2 separate regions of the Homo sapiens genome follow, and region 2 is linked to region 1. Evidence: promoter capture Hi-C in 16 types of primary human blood cells and fetal thymus (Javierre and others, 2016). All regions are on one chromosome and are shown on one strand. The core of a region is centred on a gene start or on the middle of the fragment in contact, and the rest is flanking DNA. Distances in the headings are between cores, read along the strand shown.

The links. The method cuts DNA at HindIII sites, captures the fragments that hold promoters and counts their contacts. A CHiCAGO score of 5 or more calls a contact.
Region 2: a contact is called between a fragment that was not itself captured here and the fragment with the promoter of RIT1 in region 1, in 3 of 17 cell types (megakaryocytes, endothelial precursors and M2 macrophages). The highest score is 9.7, in megakaryocytes.

Annotation. Positions count from the first base shown.
Region 1 is chr1:155,908,995-155,914,761 of GRCh38, reverse strand. It overlaps RIT1 (Ras like without CAAX 1), which reads left to right and starts at 3,413. Exons shown (of 6, transcript NM_006912.6): 1 at 3,413-3,519; 2 at 3,958-4,106; 3 at 4,256-4,312. The coding sequence starts at 4,001. KHDC4 (KH domain containing 4, pre-mRNA splicing factor) reads left to right here. Exons shown (of 14, transcript NM_014949.4): 14 at 442-1,717. The coding sequence ends at 641. The HindIII fragment of the contact is 5,298 bases long and covers 877-5,767 here.
Region 2 is chr1:155,756,935-155,763,278 of GRCh38, reverse strand. It overlaps GON4L (gon-4 like), which reads left to right. Exons shown (of 32, transcript NM_001282860.2): 23 at 905-1,089; 24 at 2,638-2,835; 25 at 5,245-5,388; 26 at 5,956-6,099; 27 at 6,202-6,321. Among named protein-coding and RNA genes, the nearest start is that of DAP3, 71 kb to the right of the region's middle. The HindIII fragment of the contact is 8,033 bases long and covers 1,078-6,344 here.

The DNA.
Region 1 (5,767 bases), core at 2,164-4,663:
CCTTTTAGCATTCCAGAACTCTAAATCCTGTAGAGGTACATGGGATATTTTATTCTTTGCCTGTACTCATAAAAATGAACAGAAGAAAATACGTTTTTTTCTTTTCTTAACTTCTTTTCTTTTAACTCTTTAAAAGGTGAAATATCAGCCCTCAAGAGACTCACTTGCTAACTTTCCTTTTTTTCTTTTTTTTTCTTTTTTTGTGTTTCTTTTTTCTTTCTCTGTTTTCTTACATGGTTCTGGTGGATTCACATTTGCTGATGCTGGTGCTGTTTTTCGTGTGATCTTCAACGTTTTTGGGTGACCATTGACCCTGTGACCTCAAAATGGTGTCCAACTAACCACTTAAAATTAACATCTTTTTTTTAATTAACGAATTTATGGTATTTTTTTTTTTCCCTTGGCGGGGATGGGGTTGGGGTTGTTTTTTCTCTATTCTAGATTATCCAGCCAAGAAGATGAAAACTACAGAGAAGGGATTTGGCTTGGTGGCTTATGCTGCAGATTCATCTGATGAAGAGGAGGAACATGGAGGTCATAAAAATGCAAGTAGTTTTCCACAGGGCTGGAGTTTGGGATACCAATATCCTTCATCACAACCACGAGCTAAACAACAGATGCCATTCTGGATGGCTCCCTAGGAAACAGTGGAACAGAGTTTTGACCCTCAGTGACTCTTCTTAGCAATAATGCATGCATTTGATTTAACAAGACTCTGGGGCCTGTGCTGGGAACCATCTGGACCTTTGCAGAAGTTAGAGATTCAGTGCCCCCCTTTCTTAAAGGGGTTCCTTAACAACCACAAAAATCCTTATTTCTGCAGTGGCATAGAATCTGTTAAAATTTAATTAGAATCACAAATTTATCTCAGAAGCTTTTTAACAGTTGGTGAAATGTGCTTGTCCAACAAAGCATCCTAACAGGGTCGTTCCCATACACATTTGACCTGGTCAGCCTTTTCCAGGTGAATAGCCCCAGTTCTGACATAAAGAAAGTTTTATTTGTATTTTACTACTGTTTGGTCAATTTTGATATATAACTGGTTACAAACAGAGCCTTACTATTTATTAGTGGGGAAATGATTTTAAGACCGTCCTTTTCAGTATTTAATTCTGACAGATCTGCATCCCTGTTTTGTTTTGGATTATTTCTGTTTTGGAAAATGCTGTCTCATTTAAAACTGTTGGATATAGCTGGATCCTGGATAGGAAAATGAAATTATTTTTTCATTGTGTTTTTTAATTGGGGTGATCCAAAGCTGGCACCTTCAGGCACATTGGTCTCATAGCCATTACTGTTTTTATTGCCCTTCTAAGATCCTGTCTTCAGCTGGGTCAGAGAAAACTTCTTGACTAAAACTGGTCAGAACTCATCACAGAAATGAAATACAGTGGTCTCTCTCTCCCAGAACTGGTTGCAGCTAAAACAGAGAGATCTGACTGCTGGCTATAGGATTTTGGACTTAATGACTGAAATTGCAAATTGTCCTTTTTCTTGGCATTACAGATTTTGCCAAAATAACTTTTTGTATCAAATATTGATGTGTGAAAGTGAAGGAGCTAGTCTGCTGAACCAGGAATAGTTTGAGATATTGAACTGTCATTTTTGCACATTTGAATACTTTGCAGGCTGGCTTTGTATAAACTTATCCTCTGGTTTCCTATATGTTGTAAATATTTAGACCATAATTTCATTATAAATAAATCTATAAATATTCTGCTTGTGGTTTCTCTGTTTTCTTCCACAACCCATCCATACACTGAAATTCATAAACTTTTTTACTCATAGCACAATGCAACTATAACATTACCAGAAAAATACATATACAGACCCCAAGGTTTGCATATAGTTCCCAGAGTTATGTAACTGCAAAATGTACCCTTAAAGTTCAAATGAAAAGGTTAAGGATTATTATGCTGGATATTTTCCATTTTCATATTTTAGCCCTCCTTTATTTAACAGCGTATTAAAAGGACTTCATGAATGAAGCGGGTTTTAAAGGAAATATGTTATTCTTGGAAAGACATTTTATTTTTTTTTGAGATGGAGTCTCGCTCTGTCACCCAGGCTGGAGTGGAATGGTGCAATCCTGGCTCACCGCAACCTCCTGGGTTCAAGTGGTTCTCCAGCCTCAGCCTCCTGAGTAGCTGGGATTATAGGCACCTACCACCATGCCCAACTAATTTTTATATTTTTAGTAGAGACAGGGAGTCACCATTTTGGCCAGGCTGGTCTTGAACTCCTGATCCTCAAGTGATCAGCCCACTTCAGCCTCCCAAAGTCCTGGGATTACAGGCGTGAGCCAGCACTCCTGGCCAGAAAGACTTAAATTTTGAGACGGAGTTTTGCTCTGTTGCCAGGCTGGAGTGCAGTGGCACCCTCTCAGCCAGCTAACTGCAACCTCCACCTCCCAGGTTCAAGTGATTCTCCTGCCTCAGCCTCCCGAGTAGCTGGGACTTATAGGCGCATGCCACCACACCCAGCTAATTCTTTTGTATTTTTAGTAGAGACGGTTTTACATGTTGGCCAGGATGGTCTCTTATTTCTTGACCTCATGACTCACCTGCCTCGGCCTCCCAGAGTGCTGGGATTACAGGTGTGAGCCACCGCGCCCGCCCGGCCCAGAAAGACATTTAAAAAGAACAGTGGTAGGCAGAGCTGCATGAGAACAATTTTCGTGTCAGTTTCTTCTAGCACCTGTGCTACGTAAATAGAGGGGAATATGGTTATAGTGGCTGCGCTTCAGTTCTGTATTTAACTCAAGGCCTCTGTTAACTCAGAGCTCTCTTTCCTGCCAGAGTGTGGTACATTTATTTAAAACAAGTTTTTGTGTGTCTTATACGTGTTTAAAATACATACAGAACTCTGATTAGGGAGTGTTGTGAACATCTGGTTTCTGAGAATGAATTTAGGTTTCAATAGCAAAAGTCATTGTGGCCGCTCCTTTAGGAAAGTCATTTTTCTCCTATGAGTAGTCATCCCCGGTAGACTTGACTGAAATCCTGTGTTTTAGGAGGATTTGGGGGGTGCCCCTGTCCTCCCTTCCTCTCATTACATTGGGTCAAATTAGTTTTGGGTTTTTTTTTTTCCCACAAGCAGCAAACAACCCTCGGTAAGTTGTTAATTTAAGTGTCCCTGCATGTCTCTTATCACGTACTCCCTTCCCTTTTGTGTAAATAATTTACTTTCTACTCGTGATTAAATACCCTTGTCTGTGAGTGCATACACCCTAGGTTGGGTAGGTGACCAGAGGACCTTCAGCGGTGGGTCCCGGAACTGGGTTTTAGGGACCTGGGAGGGGCGGGAAGAGGGCGGGGCAGGCTGTGGGCGTCACTGAGTGGCCCCGCCCCTCCTTCCGCGACTCGGGCGCCGGTGGCGCCATCTTACTCGGTTGCGGGAGGGGTCACAGGTCAGTGCCGGAGCCTCCGCGAGTGAAGGAAGACGAAGTGCGTGACCCGACCGGCTGTGGTGTTCCAGTCCCCACTGACCAGTAGGAGCAGCAGGGCGTCGGCTTGTGAGGTAGAGGGGTGGGGAGTCTGGCGGCGGAGCAGCAGCTGGGGGTGGGGAGGGGGTTCGGAGGAGAATGGGGAGGGGGCGGAACCTCTGGGTACCGCAGACGTGAGAGAACCCCTGCGGCCTAAGGGGCCGCATCCCTTTCTTCCCAAAACTTTCTCCTTGTCCCTACTGTGCCGAGACGTAAATTTATTTGTATCTTTTTATTTTTCTCTTTGGAAAAAGTAAAACCTGTGATGTGTCATGTGACTGAACTGTCTAGGAGGGAGGGTGAAGATGGGGGGGTTTCTTAGGGCCACCCGAAAGGGTGCAGTGGTGAGCAAGAGGGACAGGCCAGAGTAAGAGGGACAGGCCAGAATATGTATGGAAAGGTAAGGCACTGGCTTGAGGGCTGTCGCCGTGGTGTCTCCATCCTGGATTAAGCATTTCCTCCTCCTTTTCTAGGTGGCTTTTCCTCGGGGCAACCGAGGAAGGCCCCAAGAGGACAATGGATTCTGGAACTCGCCCAGTTGGTAGCTGCTGTAGCAGCCCCGCTGGGCTCTCACGGGAGTACAAACTAGTGATGCTGGGTGCTGGTGGTGTAGGGAAGAGTGGTAGGTAACATTTTCCATTTGACAGGAAGCATGGATGAAAAGTACTTAAATGACCAGATGGGATACTTGCTATCTTGCAATGTTAATACTTAAAATTCTCTCTGTGGGTCACCTTTGTGAGGATTTGACTTTTATTTCTTCTTTTGAAGCCATGACCATGCAGTTCATCAGCCACCGATTCCCAGAAGATCATGATCCCACCATTGGTAAGCCAGATCATCACTTATGTTTCCAAATATACCCCATAAAAATATCTTAATGAATATCAGTAGTTTCTAACTATTTATATTTTGAGGCTTTTTTGGAGTCTAATTCAGATTTATTTAGAAACAAGGGTATCAGCAGTTGGTAAGCAACTGAATATTTCTTTTTTTTTCAGACTTTATGTCATAAGCCATCTTTAGTCTTTGTCTCTTACTGAACATTAATGGGACAACTCTCTTTGTTGTATTTTTTTATGGTTGTATACAGGCCACTTAACGAAGCCTTTTCTTGCTGTCACTTCTCTAAGGGTATGACTTGAGACTCGCTCTGTAACTGTGAGTCAGCTGGTTTGAACTTCCACAAAAGGAAGCAGAGAAACAAGTAGAGCCAGGCTGCTGAACTCTTACAACCCAGACATGCCAAGCCTGGACATCTTGCACTTGGAGCTCTTGGTTTACTTCCTTATACCTTAAGTTCATTACGTAGTAATGTCTTCTCCCATGTCTGTCTGTTGTTTTTTTTTTTTTTTTGAGATGGAGTCTCGCACTGTCTCCCAGGCTGGAGGGCAATGGTGCGATCTCCGGTCACTGTAACCTCCGCCTCCCGGGTTCAAGCAATTCTCCTGCCTCAGCCTCCTGAGTAGCTGGGATTACAGGCATCTGCCACCACACCCGGCTAATTTTTGTATTTTTAGTAGAGATGGGATTTCACTATGTTGGCCAGGCTGGTCTCAAACTCCTGACCTCAAGTAATCCATCCACCTCAGCCTCGAAAAGTACTGGGATTACAGGCGTGAGCCACTGTGCCTAGCCCTCCGATGTCTTTTATGGTCCTTAACTCTTGTTGCAGAACGCTAATAGAGTAAAAAAGTCATTTTGTTTGCTTTGACTTTTTTATTTTTTAATTGCTAATCTCTACAAAGACTAAGAACATTACTGTCATTCCTAAACCATAAGGAAGCAGGTTTGATTCTAAGGGTTTATATCCTAATATGAAAGAAAAATGGATGTGGGAATGGGAGAGGGCACAGAAAGTCAGCTGTACTGTTATTTTCTTTTTTTGTTTTTTTTTTTGGAGACGGTGTCTCACCCTGTTGCCCGGGCTGGAGTGCGGTGGCACAATCTCGGCTCACTACAAGCTCCACCTCCCAGGTTCATGCCATTCTCCTGCCTCAGCCTCCCGAGTATCTGGGACTACAGGCGCCCGCCACCAAGCCCGGCTAATTTTTTTTTGTATTTTTAGTAGAGATGGGATTTCACCGTGTTAGCCAGGATGGTCTCAATCTCCTGACCTCGTGATCTGCCCACCTCGGACTCCCAAAGTGCTGGGATTACAGGCGTGACCACTGCGCCGGGCCTTATTATTTTCAGTATGTGACACTCTTTGCCATGATCCTAGTTCTCTAGGAAGGATTTCCATTGGGTCAGGCCTCTGCTGCTCTGTTTCCCGCAAAGCCA
Region 2 (6,344 bases), core at 3,845-6,344, 150 kb after region 1:
CTCACTTAACCTCATTGTCTAGAGGACAGTGTGCAGGGTGGGTAGCTTATAAACCAGGTGGAGGATTTCCAGAGGAAACCCTCTGGATCTCTTCTGCAACACCCCTCCCCCAAAACATGTTTAATGTGGTATCTTTGTGGAGAACAGATACTCAGAAATTTTTAATTCAATTCTCATCCGTTGCTAGATTTATATTAGCTTCGTTCACTTTCTTTCTTTTTTTTATTTTTTTATTTTTTTTTTGAGACGGAGTCTTGCTCTGTCGCCCAGGCTGGAGTGCAGTGGTGCGATCTTGGCTCACTGCAACCTCTGCCTCCCAGGTTCAAGCGATTCTCCTGCCTCACCCTCCTGAGTAGCTGGGATTACAGGCATCTGCCCCCACACCCAGCTAATTTTTGTATTTTTAGTAGAGATGGGGTTTTACCATGTTGGTCAGGCTGGTATCGAACTCCTAACCTTATGATCCACCCGCCTCGGCCTCCCAGAGTGCTGGGATTACAGGCGTGAGCCACTGTGCCTGGCAGTTCACTTTGTTAAACTGATTGTTACCTTATCTGTCATGTGTGGGGCTAAGACCCATGTTTATTTCAGAAAACACTGCTTGTTCCTCATCAAGACATAGTCTCTCAAAAGCACTACAGAAGCCACACTTGCTCTTTAGACTTCCTTTCTCAATATGAAGTAGCTGATTATCTTGTTGTCATCCCAATTAAGGCAGTTACACTGCAGACTCTGCGTAGAACTGACTTGACGGACTTAGTTCTCATACCATTTTCCCAAAAACCTTTTCCTTGAATTGCTCCATAATATTGAATAGGATTTGGCTGGGGTGGTGCATGTGGTGGAATGGGAAGAACACAGGTTGCAGGGACAGGGAAACAATCCTTTTCATGTGTGCTACAAGGAGAGAGCATCAAAGCTGCTGGAAAAGGCCGGAACAATCATCGAGCTCGCAACAAGCGGGGAAGTCGGGCTCGGGCCAGCAAGGACACCTCCAAGCTGCTGTTGCTGTATGATGAGGACATTCTCGAGCGAGATCCACTCAGGGAGCAGAAGGACTTGGCCTTTGCCCAAGCTTATCTGACCAGGGTAGGCAAATGCTGCTTCCTGTTATTGCCAGTCTCTATGAATGTGGCTGCTTCTTCAAGGGAGATGTTTTTCAACATAAAGTCTGTTTTTCAGGCTATGCAACAGGCTTCATATTCCTCTATCTTGGCTTTTCTGGCAAAAGATCTCTGTGACAGAACCACAAGGAGACATAGAATTCAATCATAAGTATGTTTATTGTTAGTACCCTGCCATCATCCTTCTGTTGACCAGAGATTGGCAGAAAGATGATACCACCATCATCAGTGGGAGGTTGTGACTTTACTGGGTGCGCTGATAAGGACCTTTATAGAACCTTTGGCTTGAGAAGAAAGATAGTGGGTACACTGGCCAGCAAGTGGATTTCAGGAAAATACATTGCTCTTAAGACATGAACCAGCTGGGCGTGGTGGCTGACACCTATAATCCCAGCACTTTGGGAGGCCGAGGTGGGTGGATCACCTGAGGTCAGGAGTTAGAGACCAGCCTGACCAACATGGTGAAACCCTGTCTCTACTAAAATACAAAAATTAGCCGGGTGTGGTGGTGGGCGCCTGTAATCCTAGCTACGGGGGAGGCTGAGGCACAAGAATCACTTGAACCTGGGAGACGGAGTTTGCAGTGAGCCGAGATCGCACCACTGCACTCCAGCCTTGGTGACAGGGCGACACTCTGTCTCAAAAAAAAAAAAAAAATGAACCAGGCTGGGCGCTGTGGCCCTTGCATATAATGCCAGCACTTTGGGAGGCTGGGGTAGGAGGATCCTTGAGTCCAGGAGTTCAAGACAAGACAAGCCTGGGCAACACAGGAGACCTCCATCTCTACAAAAATAAAAAAAAAATAGTGAGCTAAGCATGGTGGTGCATGCCTGTGGTCCTAGGTACTTTGGGAGTCTGAGGTGGGAGGATCACTTGGGCCCAGGTGGTTGAGACTGCAGTGAGCCATGATTGCATCAGTGCACTCCATCCTGGGCAACAGAATGAGACCCTGTCTCAAAAAAAAAAAAAAAAAAAAAAACCACACATAAGCTAACCACTTCTTGGTAGTGTCCTGGAGAACTGTGTCCTTCTCTTGGTAACCACCTGATTCCTTTATCCCCCTGGAAAGCAGAATACTGGCAATGATAGTCATAGCTTTTTCTTATCTCCTAATGTTTTACTGACATTCCTAACTTATGTATTATTTACTCTCAAATTACGCCCATGCTGAAATACATGTACAAACACATGTTACCTATTTCATTATGGGGCTGTAATCAGTAAGGAAAGGTTAGGGCTGTGACCTAGAGAAAAGCATTGCTTGGTTTTGTGGGTAGAACTGTGGAACGTGGAAGATGATTTTTCACTTGCTCACTCCCAGAAAAAGATCTTTACCTTGCCTATTGCTCTGTGTCTTCCATTAACAGTCAGATGTTAAGATCTGTTGGAGGCACAGCCTCTGATGGATAATTCTTGGAGCTCTCTAACCATAACCCTGCCTTCTCCCTTGTACCCTTATTGCTTGTTGTGGCCCAAATAAAGGGTGTTGATGATTGAAAGTCTTCCCGTGTAGGTGCGAGAAGCCCTACAACATATCCCTGGCAAGTATGAAGACTTCCTTCAAGTCATCTATGAATTTGAGTCAAGTACCCAGAGACGGACGGCTGTAGATCTCTACAAAAGCCTGCAAATTCTGCTCCAAGACTGGCCTCAGCTGTTGAAAGACTTTGCTGCTTTCCTGTTACCTGAGCAAGCTCTGGCCTGTGGATTAGTAAGTGAATGGGGAAAAAAAGTACACTGGGACTCCTGGGTCAGAGTGAGACTGGGATTGAATGGGGTTGAATAAGACTCTTTCAGTCTCCCAGCTCCTTCCAGACACACAGCCATCCCCTAGCCCAGAGTGATAAAAGCCTCTGTCTTTTCAGGGTATTATCTTTCCAATCCCATTCTCCCATTTTCTTTACATGATAAATGAGAGGGTTTTACCTATAGTTGCCAAAGGACACCTTAGGTGAGTCATATGCTCTCTGCTTCTCACTGGTATCAAGCCAGACATTCATTTAACAAATATTTGTTAGGTGCCTCCTAACTGTCAGGAATTCCTAGCAATTCCTGACCTCAATTGCTAGGAATATAGTAATTACAAAAGACTAAAATTCCTGCCCTCGTGGAGCTTACGTTATCATGAGGAAATTCAGATGATACTCCAGAAAACATATATATATATATATCATATATATATATATATAATATATAAAATATAAATTATAAAAATAAATATAAACAGCAAAATATATAGTATACAATGTTTTATAGTGATCATGTTTTACAGAAAAATAAAGCAGGAAAGGAAACTAGAGGGGTGGTTTTATACACAGCGGTCTGGGAAGGCCACTGTGGTATGGTAACGTGAAATGTTGCAGAATAGGAGGCTAAACATGAGGGATATCCCAGTAGTCCTGGACTTATCGTCATAAAAATAGGAACAAAGGGAGGAACGGGATTATTCTAAGAGTTTTATTGGGGTTAAATGACAGTGGGGTAGTTCTGCATATAATGTGTGATGCCCATTTTCTCTTCTGGTATTATGAGGTTCCAATCAGTGTATACGTGAACAAAAAAAAAAATTTTTTTTTTTTTGAGATGGAGTTTCACTCTTGTTGCCCAGGCTGGAGTGCAGTGGCGTGATCTCGGCTCACTGCAACCTCCGCCTCCTGGGTTCAAGCGATTTTCCTGCCTCAGCCTCCCGAGTAGCCGGGATTACAGGCATGCGCCACCACCACGCCTGGCTAATTTTGTATTTTTAGTAAAGACGGGGTTTCTCCATGTTGGTCAGGCTGGTCTCGAACTCCAGACCTCAGGTGATCTGCCCACCTCGACCTCCCAAATTGCTGGGATTACAGGTGTGAGCCACCACACTTGGCCAAAAAATTTTTTTAAAGAGATAATGTCAGCCAGGTATGGTGGCTCACACCTGTTATCCCAGCACTTTGGGAGGCCAGCCTGGACAACATAGCAAGACCCCATCTTTACATAAAATAAAAAAATTAACTAACTGGGTGTGGTGGTGCACACCTTTGGTCCCAGCTATTTGGGTGGCTGAGGTGGGAGGACCACTTGAGCCTGAGAGGTTGAGGCTTCACTCAGCCATGATTGCTCCACTACACTCCAGTTTGGGTGACAAGAGCAAGACCTTGTCTCAAAAACAAAAAAGAGAGAGACAATGGCCAGACACAGTGGCTGGCATCTGTAATCCCAGCACTTTGGGAGGCTAAGGTGGGAGGATCCCTTGTAGCCAGGAGTTTTGTTGTTGTTGTTTTATTGTTGTTGTTTTTTGAGGCAAAGTCTGACTCTGTCACCCAGGCTGGAGTGCAGTGGTGTGATCTCTGCTTACTGCAACCTCTGCCTCCCAGGTTCAAGTGATTCTCCTGCCTCAGCCTTCCGGGTAGCAGGGATTACAGGCATGCATGACCGCACCTATCTAATTTATGTATTTTTAGTAGAGATGGGGTTTCACCATGTTGGTCAGGCTGGTCTCGAACTCTTGACCTCAGGTGATTTGCCTACCTCGGCTTCCCGAAGTGCTGGGATTACAGGCATCAGCCACCACAGCTGGCCTGTAGACAGGAGTTTGAGATGAGCCTGGACAACACAGGCCCCTGGGATCCTCCTGCCTCAGCCTCCCAAGTAGCTCAAGCTACAGGTGTACACCACGGCCCCTGCCTAATTTTTAAATTTTTTTGTAGAGACATAGTCTCAGTATGTTGCTGTTCTTGAACTCCTGGCCTTAAGCGATCCTCCTGCCTTGGCCTCCCAACATGGGATTACAGCTATGAGCCACCTTGTGCAGCCTGAAAGTTCTTTGTAATATAAACTCTAAAGTATCATATGAATTTTGGTGGCTGATTTCACAATCCTTAAAACAGCAAACAACTTGAAATATATACATCTCTTGAAGCTGTTGCTCACATCTTAATTGCTTTGGGTGGCTACCCACCAGTGGCCCAAGGTGGATGGAGGTTAGGGTTTTAAATTAGATCTCAATAGTTGTAAACTAGAATTTTAAACCAGGGTTCTGTCATCTCTTGTGTCCTAGTCCACTAGTTCTTATCCTTAGAACCCTCAAGTCCTGCTCTAGCTGTATCATGACTCCTCTTTTGCCCACTTTCCACTCTGGTAGTTTGAGGAGCAGCAGGCTTTTGAGAAGAGCCGCAAGTTCCTTCGGCAGCTGGAGATTTGCTTTGCAGAGAACCCCTCACACCACCAGAAGATTATCAAGGTCCTCCAAGGCTGTGCAGACTGCCTTCCCCAGGAGATCACCGAGGTATTCTTTCCTGTCCTGCTTTCTTCCTGTTGTCTTCCGGGCCTTAGGCCTTTCCCTTGTCTCTTTCCCCAACCTACTCCATACCTTTTTGCCTCTGGAGGCTCATGGGCTTCCTGGAGGAGATGAAAAAGGCAAGGACTTTTCAGGCTCACCCAAAGCATAAAGCACTGGGATAGGGAGGGATTGCTACCTGAAACCGGAGCCTGTCTGATCTTCACAGGCTCAGGAATGCCATGGATGTGCTGGAAGGGATGTTCAGCGAAGGAGGTTCTGGGACCTGGGAGGGGCCTTACCTCCTTGCTCTGCTTGGAATAGTGCCCTAGCTGGAGATCAGTAGGGTGGAGTGGAGAGTGGAATCATTAGGAATCAAATCCAGTATTAGTACCCTTCCCCTATAGGCAGCTAAGGAGGAAGAGAAAGTTTTAGTATTCTTTGTTACCAGGCAGAGTCTCTGTGTGTTTCCCAGTTGACTGGGAAAGCAGAACATGGAAGTATGTGGGATTGATTGGGAAGGGCAGCCTAGAGAGGCTCTGGAGACTTCCTCTTTCCCTCTGTGACTCTCCTCAGCTCAAGACACAGATGTGGCAGCTCCTCAAGGGCCACGACCACCTGCAGGATGAGTTTTCTATCTTCTTTGACCACTTGCGCCCAGCAGCTAGCCGGATGGGTGACTTTGAAGAGATCAATTGGACTGAGGAAAAGGAGTATGAGGTATAGGACCTAAGGCTGCTGTAGCCTTATGAAGGGGGAAGGCCACACGTGGGAGGGATATTGGCCTGGTGTCTGTGCTCAGCAGCACCAACTCCTTCTCAGTTTGATGGCTTTGAAGAAGTGGCCCTGCCTGATGTGGAAGAAGAGGAGGAGCCTCCCAAGATACCCACAGCCTCAAAGAACAAGAGGAAAAAAGAGATCGGGGTCCAAAATCATGATAAGGTATTTTCTTTGTTTATTTGTTT